2 separate regions of the Homo sapiens genome follow, and region 1 is linked to region 2. Evidence: promoter capture Hi-C in human tissues and cell types (Jung and others, 2019). All regions are on one chromosome and are shown on one strand. Each heading gives the region's core, a stretch centred on a gene start or on the middle of the fragment in contact. The rest is flanking DNA. Distances are from core to core; before and after follow the strand shown. Region 1 overlaps EXOSC2 (exosome component 2). Region 2 holds the start of FAM78A (family with sequence similarity 78 member A).

Region 1 (6,073 bases), core at 698-3,197, 580 kb before region 2:
TGGGATTACAGGCGTGAGCCACTGTGCCTGGCCTAGGATTTTCTTTAGAATTCAGTGAGATGGTGCCTGTAAAGTATTTAGCACAGAGCCTGATACCTAGAAGCATTCAATGAAGGTTAGCCCCAGAAAGCAAGCCAGTGGGGTTGGAACAGAGTGAGTGAGGGGGAGAGAAGGGGCAGATGTAAGCAGAGAGCTGAGGTGGGCGGGCGTGGGCCTGCCTTGTAGCCAGAGTAAGCATTTTGGCTTCTACTTTGTGTAATCTGGGAAGCACTGGAAGGGGTGGAGCAGAGGAGGGACTTGATCTGGACTTAAGCTCACTCTGGCTGCTGATGGGAGATTGAAGGGGGATAGGGCAAGCTTAGGGAGGTGGATTAGGGACCATACTCATGATCTGAAGTGATGGTGGCTTCAACTAAGGTGGGAGCAGTGGAAGGTGGAGGAGTGATTGGAATCTACACAGATTTTATTTTCCGAGTGTTTTTTTAAAATCATGAAAAGCTGTTGGGTTTTGTATTCTTTGGGCTTTACTGTGCATAGGACCCCGTCAACTGTGAATAGAAATAAGTTTACTTCTTCCTTTCCAATTTGGATGCCTTTTATTTCCTGCATATGTTTTAAGGGTAGAGCCAACAGGTTTTGCTACTGGACTTGTCCTGGAGCGTGAGAGAGAGAGAGGAATCAAGGAACTCTCCGAGGTTTTTGGCCTGAGCAACTGAGGGGATGGAGTCACCGTTGACTGAGATGGGGACAACTCATCCCCTATCTCGGTTTGCTATGGAGGACTGGAGGGGGCTGCGGGAAAGCTTAGTTTTGTGCTTGATACATTTGAAAATGCCTGTTAGTCATCTAGATGGCAGAGTTGGGTAGCTAGCAGTTGAGTAGGATTTGGAATTCAGGAGAGTGGCACAGTCACAGCACAGAGTGGTGTTTTAAAGGTATTAGATTGAGTGGCCGAAAAGTGAAGAGGTCTAAGGACTTAGCCTCAGCACTGAGTACGTCTCATTAGAATCGCGGGTAAGGAACTAGCAAAGGGGCTTGAGAGGAGCAGGCAGTGAGTAAGTGGAGGAGACGTGAGCAGACTTGTGTGGTTGGAGTCCTGGCTCAGATTTCCTTTCTCTTCCTTTGGCTGGTGCAGAACTCATCCATGTGCCACAGGAAAATAGTCCGTGTTTTTCATTGTCGTGTAATCGAACAAAATAGGGTTTTTGGGCTAAATGAACTACTTGGAATGGTGATATGTCTAAGGATAGTTAATGGAGACTTTATACGTGGAGGAATGTTTGAAGTTAGCAGTTTCTGAAAGTAAGTCCAGACAATATAGTTACATGAATTTGCTGAATGTGGCGCCTGTTCCAGGCTTTCACCCTGTTGAACCGACATCTCAAATGGTGTGTGGTCTTGTCAGAAAGTCTGCTCACAGATGGATGAACCCCTTGTGTTTTGTCTTTCAGATACATTGGTGAAGTAGGAGACATCGTAGTGGGACGAATCACAGAGGTAACGTCGATATCAGATTGGTGTTTACAAAGTCGAGGCAGGCTGGCGATTTCATTCATGGGACAGTCATTCCACTTGTAGTTACATGAAAAAGGCATTCATTGCATTTGGCCGTTGTGTGGCTTCTGATGTAAATATGTGGCTTGTTCGATTTCAGATTACTGGTTCATGTTTTTTTTTTTTTGAGATGGAGTCTCGCTCTGTCGCCCAGGCTGGAGTGCAGTGGCATGATCTTGGCTCACTGCAACCTCCACCTCCCAGGTTCAAGCGATTCTCCTGCCTCAGCCTCCCAAGTAGCTGGGATTACAGGCACCCGCCACCACGCCCAGCTAATTTTTGTATTTTTAGTAGAGATGGGGTTTCATTATATTGGTCAGGCTGGTCTCAAACTCCTGACCTCAAGTGATCCACCAGCTTCGGCCTCCCAAAGTGCTGGGATTACAGGCGTGAGCCACCACATCTGGCCTTACTGGTTATTTATGATATGACACATGAACATGGAGCATGTGTCCAGGTGTGGAACTTGGCTTATAGGTTCAACAGAAGAGGTGGAAGGTGGAGACCAACTCCAGGCTGGATTCGGTCTTGCTGCTCTCGTCCATGAACCTTCCTGGAGGAGAGCTGGTAAGGGCTACAGCTGGGGCCATGGACTAGGGCCCAGTGGGCTGGGGGGAGCCGTGGGACCCTTTGTTCCACCAGAGGACTTTGATTTACACTGAGGTTGCCCCTTTGACTCCTGTTTGTCTGCTGTGAAGTTTGCTGCCTAGATGTGTATGTAGACTTTTCACCCTGTCCAGGTCTCCCGAAAGAGGGAGCAGTTGGCATATGGTAGGATCAGAAACATCCATGGGGTGGGATCCCAACAGAGAGTTGGGGAGAGAAGCCCTTAGATGCTGGTTGTTAACAGTTTTCCTTTTTGGATATAACAGCCTTGCATAGTGAAGATGTTCCTTGAAAAGTTGTCTTTACATTAGGTTTTTGTGAATTGAAAGGCATTTCATTCAACCATGTGTGGAATGTGGTTGCTGGCATTCCAGACAACCACAGTAACTAAGCCACAGCCTTTTGTAAAATGCCATGGTTCACCTTGATCTTCAGTCCAGCGTGTATTTACAGAGAGGCTTACTGTGCCAAGCTCTGTGCCGAGTGCCAAGCACGATTGAGTTCCCCAGCAGGGGATATAAGATAACTGACCTAGTCCCTGGCAGTAGAAGAATAAATAAGCTGTGGTTATACAAAAGGAAATTTCAGTGAGAGAAGCTTGTAGGAAAGACAGGCATTGGAGTTGATCCTGGAAGGATGGAGAGACTTTGAATGACTAGTTCAGGGAATCTGAGATAAAGGGAAATGTATGAGCAGAGATATATCCAAGCAGGAGTTAGTCTGGTCCTGCTGGACCACAGAGGGCTGTCATGGAAGATGACTATGGAAATGTTGGCTAGGTGAGATTGGGAGGGGTCTGAATGTTCCTCAGAGAAGGGAGGGAAAGAGGAAGAGGAGCTGTGGAAAAGTCTTTTGAGATGGAAAGTCGTGATTATCACTGATTCCCCTCAAGTGGCTTGGGTTACCTACTCTTGCTATAGTTCTCAGTGCTTGAATATTGTGGTTGGCCTCAAACATCTCAAAAGGAAGTGAAAGAGAAGTGATGGAGACCTTTCTGAGGATCTGGCTTAAGTAATGTCATTTCTTTGTGTATTTCAGAGGAGAAGATCTGCAGAAGATGAGCTTGCAATGAGAGGTTTCTTACAGGAAGGGGACCTTATCAGTGTATCCTGCGCTTTGCACTCCAGCCTCTTGATGCTTTTCTGTGGGACTGGGAAATGGGCCTTCCATTGTATGTCTCTGACGGAAGAACCATGTCATCCTTGCAGGGATCCGAGTCTTAGACCAAGTGTCGGGCTCTGCTGCATCCTTTCTCAGTCTCCTTAATTCAGGCTGACTCCCCAGCTCTTGTTGGGACCTGCTGCTAAGTCATTTCTTTGGGTCTTGTAACTTACGGTGGCCTGTGCTTTAGACTAGGCTTTTGTTAATGGTGTTAACTTTTAGCGCAGGGAGTGGAGAAGGTGTTGTTCACGTCAAGATATTAATGACAGGCCGAGTGTGGTGACTCATGCCTGTAATCCCAGCGCTTTGGAAGGCCAAGGAGGGAGGACTGCTTGAGCCTAAGAGTTCAAGACCAGCCTGGGCAACATAGCAAGACCCCCCTCTCTACAAAAAAATTAAAAAAGAATTAGCCGGGCGTGGTGGCACATGCCTGTAGTCCTAGCTACTCAGGAGGCTGGGGCCAGAGGGTTGCTTGAGCCCAGGAGCTCAAGGCTACAGTAAGCTATGATCACACCACTGCATTCCAGCTTGGGTGACAGAACAAGACTCTGTCTCTATTTTATGTTATTTTTTAAATTTTTCTTTTTTTTTAATGACGGAGTCTTGCTCTGTTGCCCAGACTGGAGTGCAGTGGCGCGATCTCGGCTCACTGCAACGTCCGCCTCTTGGATTCAAGCAATTCTGCCTTAGCCTCCCAAATAGCTAGGATTACCGGCGTGCGTCATGCCTGGCTAATTTTTGTATTTTTAGTAGAGACAGGTTTCACCATATTGGCCAGGCTGGTCTCAAACTCCTGACCTCAGGTGATCTGCCCACCTCGGCCTCCCAAAGTGCTGGGATTACGGGCATGAGCCACCATGCCTGGCCTCTGTCTTTATTTTATTTATTTATTTATTTATTTATTTATTTATTTATTTATTTTTTTGAGACGGAGTTTCACTCTTGTTGCCCAGGCTGGAGTGCAATGGTGGGATCTCGGCTCACTGCAACCTCTGCCTCCCGGGTTCAAGCGATTCTCCTGCCTCAGCCTCCTGAGTAGCTGGGATTACAGGCATGCGCCACTATGCCCGACTAATTTTGTACTTTTAGTAGAGACGGGGTTTCTCCATGTTGGTCAGGCTGGTCTAGAACTCCTGACCTCAGGTGATCGACCTGCCTCAGCCTCCCAAAGTGCTGGGATTACAGGTGTGAGCCACCGCACCTGGCCTTCTGTCTGTATTTTTAAAAAAAAGATATTCATGACAACCAAGGGGAGAGGTAAGGTCACAGTGATGTGCTCTGGGTCAAAGATTGTTGAGCCTGGACCATTGGAGAGGGGAGGAAAAGATGGAGGTGTGGGGTCAAGGGGAGAGGCTGCAGAGGACAGGACAGTGTGTGGCCAAGGCTGCTGTTTGTTCCTTCATCACCCTGGCCAGGCTGAGGTCCAGGCAGTGTTCTCTGACGGAGCTGTCTCTTTGCACACGAGGAGCCTGAAATATGGAAAAGTAAGTCGGGCTCTTGATGTTCCTGTTTGCTGACTGAGACTACAAGGCTATTTTTGAATCCCCATAGCTCTCTGGAATTCTGGCCTAAAGAACCCCAGTAGCTAAGCATTAATAGAGGCTGGCATCCCACAAACTGATCGTGTTCCTTAAACGTAACATCAGGACGGTCAGGGTTCACAGGGTCATGGGTCAGTAGCCTTGTAAAGAACAAGTTTTATCCTTTTTCTCCAAGGAGACTGACTTTCACCAGAAGAGCCCCTCCAACTGTGGGCTGGGAGGTGCAGCTGTCTCTCTTCCTCCAGGGGGCGCTGCAGCTCAGCACTGGGGCTGAGGCTGTCCTGGGAACAAAGGCAGGCTGGGTCTGGTTAAACAGCCCTTAGACAAACGTCCAATCAGTCCAGTGGATGTTATTGCTGGCAAAGCTTGCTCTGTCATCTGAGCCTCTAAATGGAATTTCACTGCTTTTCTTGTACGAGGTTGCATTATTGAAGCTATTTACTATTTTAAGGAGAGCATACTTCCTAAAACAAATTAGGATTTACTAGTCTCTTAGCTTTATCTGGGTGAACGTTTTTATTTTCTGAGTGGAACAAAAACCTCTTCCCTTAATGGAGTGGCTGCAGACAGCCACGTTGATGTACATGGAGTAGGCAGAGGACTGCTGCAGTATGCTGACTTTCACAACCCTGGGTCCTGCGGACTCTTCCTTGGCAGGACGTGGACTTGAGCTGTCCTGCCAGGACCAGACATGGATTTGCACCCAGCTCCACCCATCTCCTTACCTACCCAGAGGCACACATCTCACAGGCAAGATGAGTGTTTGGGGTTCAGGTATGAGCTAGGGTCATGGAACAACGCAGTGCTCCTGGGCCAGCAGGAGGCTCCAGCTCACTTCCTCATTGGCTTCAGCTTCTCTAATGTCTGGCACATGAGTTCTGGCTTAGAGTGCAAGGAAGACTGCAAAGGGAAATGACAGAGAAGAGTATTGAAGGTCACCTTCTGCTGGGATGTATGAATAGCCTCTGAGTCCCAAAGCGTTCTCTGCAAAAATGTGTACTATGTGTATGCATGTAGGCGACAGCAATTATAAACAGGAAGGACACCAATTTGAATATACTTAGGATGTATATTCTGTAGTCTCCTTTTCATTCATCCCGCCAATCTTGCAGTGACCTAGCTTCGTGATATATTTCTTTAGCTAGGTCAGGGGGTTTTGGTCCAGGTTTCCCCCTCCCTGGTGAAACGGCAGAAGACCCACTTTCATGATT
Region 2 (6,582 bases), core at 3,726-6,225:
GCCCAAGGGTTGGGAGCTGGAGTTCACACCCTGCCATACATGGGCATGGGGTAGTGTCCCCATCCACCCAAAGAAACCCTTTCTATCTGAGCTGCTCCCCCTCCTCCCCGCCCAGTCTGCCCTTTGGCAGAATCCTGAGCCATAAACTGCCCCTGACCTTGGCCTTGGCCATGGGCGTGGCTGTGGGCCAGGTTCCCAGGGGGCTCCAGAGAAGGGCAAACCAGGGACAACGTGGAACTTCTCCCACACAGGCGAGAAATTGTGACTTGTCACTTAGAAGACTCTGTGCCAGCTGACAGGTGGCAGTTGAGGAATTGCGGGGGCCGGGCTGTGGAGGCAGGTGTCTCCAACAATTTGGATGGGGGGGGTTGGCTTTTAAAGCAATGTGGGTTGGACCCAAAGCCATATAGAATCCTCTCATGCTGGCACAGAGAAACTCACTCTTTTCCAGCTCTGTCTGCAAAAGTCAGGGTATTATTGAGATGGTGGTTTTTTTTTTTAATTGTTCCATTTCAAATATTTCAAACCCAGAATGTCATTCTAAAAAGTTATCCTCTTGGCTTAGGGATTAATTTTAAGCAGGGATAACGTTTGGGGGTATTATGGATTTTGGTTAAGTATTTGGAATTAACATTTTGGATACAAGCCCATTTGTAAAGAATGAAAGCCCTAACCTAGCTCTCGCTACCTAGCTGTCCCTTCCCCGGGCCACTAAAGCACAGGGCCTGGGTTTCATTTTAAGGATGTGAATTGTCTGGGTCAAGTCCAGTGGTTCTCCACTAGGTGTGATTTCATAGCCCCTCCTGGGGACATCAGGCCCTCCCTGGGGACATTATTGACTGTCACAGCTTGCGGGGATGTGCTCCTGGCATGGAGTGGGTAGAGGCCAGGGATGCTGCCCAGCCCCCTACCATGCACAGGACACCCCCCACCAGCACAGACAGAATTACCTGACCCTGGGCCAGGCAGAGCAGAGGAACAATTCTGGGCTGGTTGGGGTTTCTGGTCACCCCAACCACTGTTCCCTTTCCTTTTCATGCCACAAGGCTTAAAAACTTGGAAAATGGAAGTCATCACAGGAGGCCTGGGGCAGGGGAGACAGGAAGGGGGTTTTAAATCCCACCCAAGGCTCACACCTGTAATCCCAGCCCTTTGGGAGGCCAAGGCAGGCAGATCACCTGAGGTCAGGAGTTCGAGACCATCCTGGCCAACGCGGTGAAACCCCGTCTCTACTAAAAATATAAAAATTAGCTGGGCATGGTGGCGCATGCCTGTAATCCCAGCTACTCTGGAGGCTGGAGCCGGAGAATCACTTGAACCCGGGAGGCAGAGGTTGTAGTGAGCCAAGATTGGCACCATTGCACTCCAGCCTGGGCGACAAGAATAAGACTCTGTCTCAAAAATAAATAAATAAAAATAAATAAAAATTAAAAAAAAGATAACTAAATCCCACCTAAATGCTTCTATTTCCATTCAGCAAGGAGCTAAAGCAAGGCCGCATCCTGGCCTTCTCCATGAGCCCTTCAAGGGTGCAGGTTGAATCCGGGACTCTGTTCTTTGGTAACTCGGCCCCTTAGGATGATTCTGTTGATTACTACCAAGTACTCGGCAGCCTCCTCCTCTACGTCTCAGCCACAGGACGGTCACCCATACTGGCCTCTCGCTGAATCCTCACAGCAGCCTACGGGAAGTTCTCCCCCTCATGGACGGACACCAAACGGAACCCCGGGGGCTGCCTGGCCAAGGCCTAGGAGCCAAGACACGTGGACCCTTCTGCCCGACTGCTCCAAGCCGCCCCTCCCAGGAAGCTTCTGACTCCATCCTGTCCCTGGGGCTGGTCCCCGTGTATCCCAACCGGGATTGCACAGCCAGTGCACCCAGGGAGAATGAGCTGGGTGGGACACAGAGGCTCCCTGCAGCAAAAGAGGAGTCCCGAGAGCGAGAGGGAGCAAAGAGAAACATCAGGGGCAGAGAGAGAACAAGGAAAATGGCCTGGAGCCACTTTAAAACGCAAGTTCTTCATGCCTTACACTGCTTTAAAAAGTTTTAAACTCAGGAAGTGGGCCCTACGTGACAGAGAAAGACTCGGCCTGGGGAGAAAATTCACTACACGGTGTGGCTGACATCTGTCCTAATTCTGTAGTTTTAGCCACTCACATCTGATAGAATAACAGTAACAATCACAACACCGCTAAGGATGATCCCCATCCCATTACTGCCTGCGGTAAGTATTCACCACCAGCTTGGCGCAGGGCTGACTGCATGGCGAATTTGGTTAGCTTGAGTGATTCTCACAATAAGCCATGGGGAAGGGGTTCTTGCCAGCCCCAGTTTGCAGATGTGTAAACTGAGGGTCAGAGCAGTAAAGGGACTTGCCTAGGGCCACATCCTGGAGAGTGGCAGAACCTGGCCTCCCGCCCAGATCTGCCTAAGAAGGCATGAGGCTCTTCCAACCAGGAAGCCAGGACTGCGACAGGGAGGGCAGGGTTGTCTCAGGTCCCAGTCTCAGGCCTAGCTCCAGCCACATCACCCACACCTACTCAGGGTCACCAGATGGAGAACAAGTCTTAGACAAGACATCGGAAGCCCATGTGCACAGATGGGGAAGCTGAGGCTTGGAGTCTGTACCTTGGGTCAGGCCTGTGGCCTCCCCACCACACGTTGCACCAACCACATTAGCATCCAGTCCCGTGAGTGCTCATGTCTTTCCAAGTTCAGAAGAACCCACTGGCTTCCTTACCCCTTCCAGGGAAGAAACTAGGCTTAGCCCAAAACCCCGAGGAAAACTTTTGTTTCTACAACTGTCCCGATGCCTTCAAAGCCCGAGGAGGTTTCTGGGCTTAAGCGTTCTTAGAAAAGGTCCTCACTGCATAACTAAGAATCATGTTTCCCTGCTTAGAACAGAAAGGCAGCACCCCCTCCCCCGAACTGGATTACTAGCTGCTCTTGAGACACAAAGGGGTTGGCACAGAAATCAGGCTGGTGGAGAGGGCCGGTGAGAGCCTCTAGATGTGCCCCCCATGTACCTCTTTGGGACAGTCACTGTCACACGCTGGACTTAAGGGTTACTGTGATCCTCATGTTTCCTTTAGAACTTTGGAGTCATTAAGTAGAGAAGCCACCAGACTTGGTGTCCCGCCATCCTCCACCCCTCTCATTTACAGGTGGCCCATGAGATTCTTAAATCTGTGATAAGTTCCAGCTCCTGGGGAAATTCTCCTCTTTTCCCCACTTGCAAAACGGGGACGTGAAGCTGCACAGGGTAGACACTGAGAGAGGCTCTGGGAGTGTCAGCGGCCAGTCACGGGGCCACAGGGTAGACACTGAGAGAGGTTCTGGGAGTGTCAGCGGCCAGTCACGGGGCCGCATGGGTGGGCTGCCCGCCGGGGCCTGCCTAGCTCTCTCCAAAGGGTCCTTACGCTCAGAAACAGCTATTTTCACCATCCCTGTCTTAGGGTGAACCTTCAGATTAAGTCACTCTCCCAACTCTGCCTAAATGCAGCTCTTTTCACCCTGGGGACGGCCTTCTCTGGGGTCAGGAAGCAGGCCAGGAAAGGAGCCCCAGGGTCCCAGGGTCCTCACCGGGACCCCCAATACCCTAGGCACACTCTGGAGACCGGGCTTTGGGGCTGCAGAGGAGAGGCTCCTCTTTGCTGTTCCTGTTAGGGCCTCGCCAGAGGGACACTGGACTTGTCTGCATAAAGCGGTCTTCTGCCTTGGAGACAGAAAGCGATACACTGTGAAGAAATCGGGCTTCTAAAACTAACTGTGCTCTCAAACACAGTGCCGTTTGGAACGGGGAAGCACTCCCCCAGCTCCTGGCATACACTGGTAAAAGCCAGAAAGATAATTGAGGCCCAATCGCAAAGCCCTGAACACACCGGTCTGGGAGTTGCAGAGTGCCTGAATGTCTGCCATGGGCCCGCACAGGGCCAGAGGCCTGGAGGGCAGCCCTGCAGCCTCTCTGGTGACCCCTGATGGCACAGACACTCCTCAGGCGGACGGCACACTTGCTCTGCCAGGAAACACTGGGAGTAATGTCTCTCTGCTTTCTCGGCATCTTGCAGGGAAGGACACAGGAACCCGGGGGGAACAGTGGCAGGGTAGATTGCAGGACCGTGACTCCAATCTGGATCCACAGGCAAACTTTTCAGGGAGCCACCGGGCCAATGAGGCCACCTGCATACCTGCCTAAAGCTTCCCTCTGGCCTCCGTCCTGTCTTCATGGTATCTCCACCTTCCCCCTATCCGCGGCCCCCCACCAGGCCTCCAAGCTCGGCCATCCCTAGCAGTTCCCAGAGCTGGCTCTCGGCCGTACTCACATGCCCTGCTCGCCGTACTGGTTGTAGAACTCCATGTGGCTGCACGCCTGGATCCAGCCAACTACCCAAGTCTCCTTCTTGGGGATGGGCGGCATGACCACCTGGGCCGAGGCCCGGAAGTGGGGTGTCCGGTAGCGGAGCACCACGCTGGAGGACTCATCGATGCTAGTGGGGACGGGGTCGATGGAGGCTTTCACATCAATCACCGTGATCCCTTCCCGGAAGACTCTGGCTTTGCCTCCGATGCTCTGAATACAGCCCATGGCATACAGGAGCGCTCTGATCTCCAGGGAAGGCCAGCAGTCACAGAAAAAACCAGGCATTGAAAGGACAGAGGCTGCAGGACCCAGTACAGACGGCGCTGCTCTCCAATCTCAACTCTCAAGACCGATATCCATAGGATAGAAAACTCACTGAGTAGACTGGGGTTGCATATATCACTACCGCGGCCTGTTTATAAATAAGGATTCTGCTGCATTTCATGAGCCCTGGGCTCTCTCTTCTTCTCCTCGCAGTGGACAAAAATCACCGATATTCTTTGGGTTAAAAAAAGTTTGTAGTTTAATGAATAATTATGCGGTTCTGACATCCAGCCCTTCTGTGCCTCACACGCGGGGACGGCAGCTCGCAGACTCTCCCTGAAGTCTTCGGAGGAAGCAGGCGAGCGCCGGCAGACTCATAAATAAGGAAGGCTCTGTCCCCGCGCGGCCGCGCCACCCTCGCGGCAGAAGCCTGACTTCCTGCCCTCCGGCCTTCCGCACGCGCTCCCTCCGGGCCCCGCACCCGCACCCGCCCGGCGCGGTCGAATCAATTGCAGAGCAGTTTGTGTTCACCCGGCCGAGGTCCCGGCGCCCTCGGGGCGAGCGCCGACCCGCGGCTTCCAGGAGGCGAGCTCAGGGCTCCGGCCGCTCGCCGGTGACGGGGGAGCGCGGCGCGGGTCCCCGTCGGCGCCCACTCGCGGGCGCGGGCCGGACGTCCCCACGCAGGGGCGCCGCGTCCCTTCGCCGCTGTCGCTGCCGGCCGCCGTGCAGGGTCCCGGGGCTGCGCTCCGGCCGCCGCCGCCTGCTTCGCCGCGGCCGCCGAGGACCTGGTGGGAGGTGGAAGGGACAGCGCGTCAAGGCCAGCCTCAAAGTTAAGCCGAACTTTGCTGCGGGGGGCGCGCGGGGGCGGCGACGCGTGTGCGCTGGGCGCGGGCTGCGGAGCTGACGGCGCAGCTCTGGGCGGTCTCCCCGGAGGCGGTGGCCCCCGCCCCCCGCGCCCGCCCCGTCAGTGGCGGCCGCACGACCGCGCGCACCAGCGAATAATAGCCGCCCGTGACATCTCCGCTGATACCGTCCCGGACGGGCGGGGTGGGGGGCGAGCGGCTGCCGCTGCAGGGGGCGGCGAGCACTTGCCCTGCTCTGTCCCCACCGCCGCGCCGCCAGCGCCAGGTGCCCCTTCCCCACCCCGGTCCCTCCGGCTCCCTGGGCGCAGGGCCACCCACCAGTGCCGTCGGATCCGGCGGGCACCCCTTTCCCGGCTGGGGTCCCTCGGCCCTCGGAGGGCATAGTGCCCCCGCTCCGCCGCGTCAAGCGCCTCTGTCGCCCCTCTCCAGCCGCGAGCAGCCCCGGGTCCCCACGCGTCGGGCGCGCTCGCCGCTGCCGGGGAACTTTGGCGCGCACGCCCCCACTCGGGCGGCGCCGCCGACTCACCTGCCCCGGGGGCCACTCCGCTGGCCCGGGCAGCCGCTCTCCGGACGCCCCTGACCCGGCCGCGGGCACGTTCTTGGGGCGCCCCCACCCCCTTCCCCGGGCACTGTCCCTTGGCTCTACTGGAGTCTGGGGCCGGCGTGGGCGCCCCCGGCCCCCACCCTCCTCCCGGCTTGGGGCTTCGGGGGGGCGGCCGGGGGCGGAGGGCTGAGGCTCGGGGCTCTCTCGCCCCCACCCCGCGCGCCTCCTTTATTTTATGATCATTGTGAGCGCGCTGTCGCCGCTCAGCCCCGCCGCCGCGCCGCTGCCGCCTGGCGCGCCCCGCGCTGCCTCGCTCTGCTGCAGCATCGGAAAGGCAACCGGGTCAAACTTTGCAGAAACTCGGCCCCTGCGCCGGCCCGGCCCCCGCGTCCGCTCGCCGCCGCCGCCGGCCGAGCGCAGCCGGCGCACGCAGGGACCGCCGCCCGCTCGCCGGCCCCGCGGGGATGCAGGTCCGCAGGCGGCGGCGGCGGCGGCGGGCGGGCGCCGCCTCCTCCTCCCCGCCCGCCTGGCTCTCCACCCTCGCTCCCCGC

What was found. The method cuts DNA at HindIII sites, captures the fragments that hold promoters and counts their contacts. A contact is called where the count stands out against the background at its distance.
Region 1: a contact is called between a fragment that was not itself captured here and the fragment with the promoter of FAM78A in region 2, in 2 of the 25 tissues and cell types used here (bladder and lymphoblastoid cells).

Annotation. Positions count from the first base shown.
Region 1 is chr9:130,696,131-130,702,203 of GRCh38, forward strand. EXOSC2 (exosome component 2) reads left to right here. Exons shown (of 9, transcript NM_014285.7): 3 at 1,452-1,497; 4 at 2,032-2,121; 5 at 3,199-3,264; 6 at 4,737-4,805; 7 at 6,004-6,073. Among named protein-coding and RNA genes, the nearest start is that of EXOSC2, 5.4 kb to the left of the region's middle. RefSeq lists an enhancer at 3,093-3,202. The HindIII fragment of the contact is 4,089 bases long and covers 1-3,992 here.
Region 2 is chr9:131,271,535-131,278,116 of GRCh38, forward strand. FAM78A (family with sequence similarity 78 member A) reads right to left here and starts at 4,976. Exons shown (of 2, transcript NM_033387.4): 1 at 4,323-4,976. The coding sequence starts at 4,645. RefSeq lists enhancers at 1,886-1,955, 3,691-4,303, 3,716-3,765, 3,796-3,845, 4,006-4,505 and 3 more and a silencer at 5,146-6,325. The HindIII fragment of the contact is 9,704 bases long and covers 3,003-6,582 here.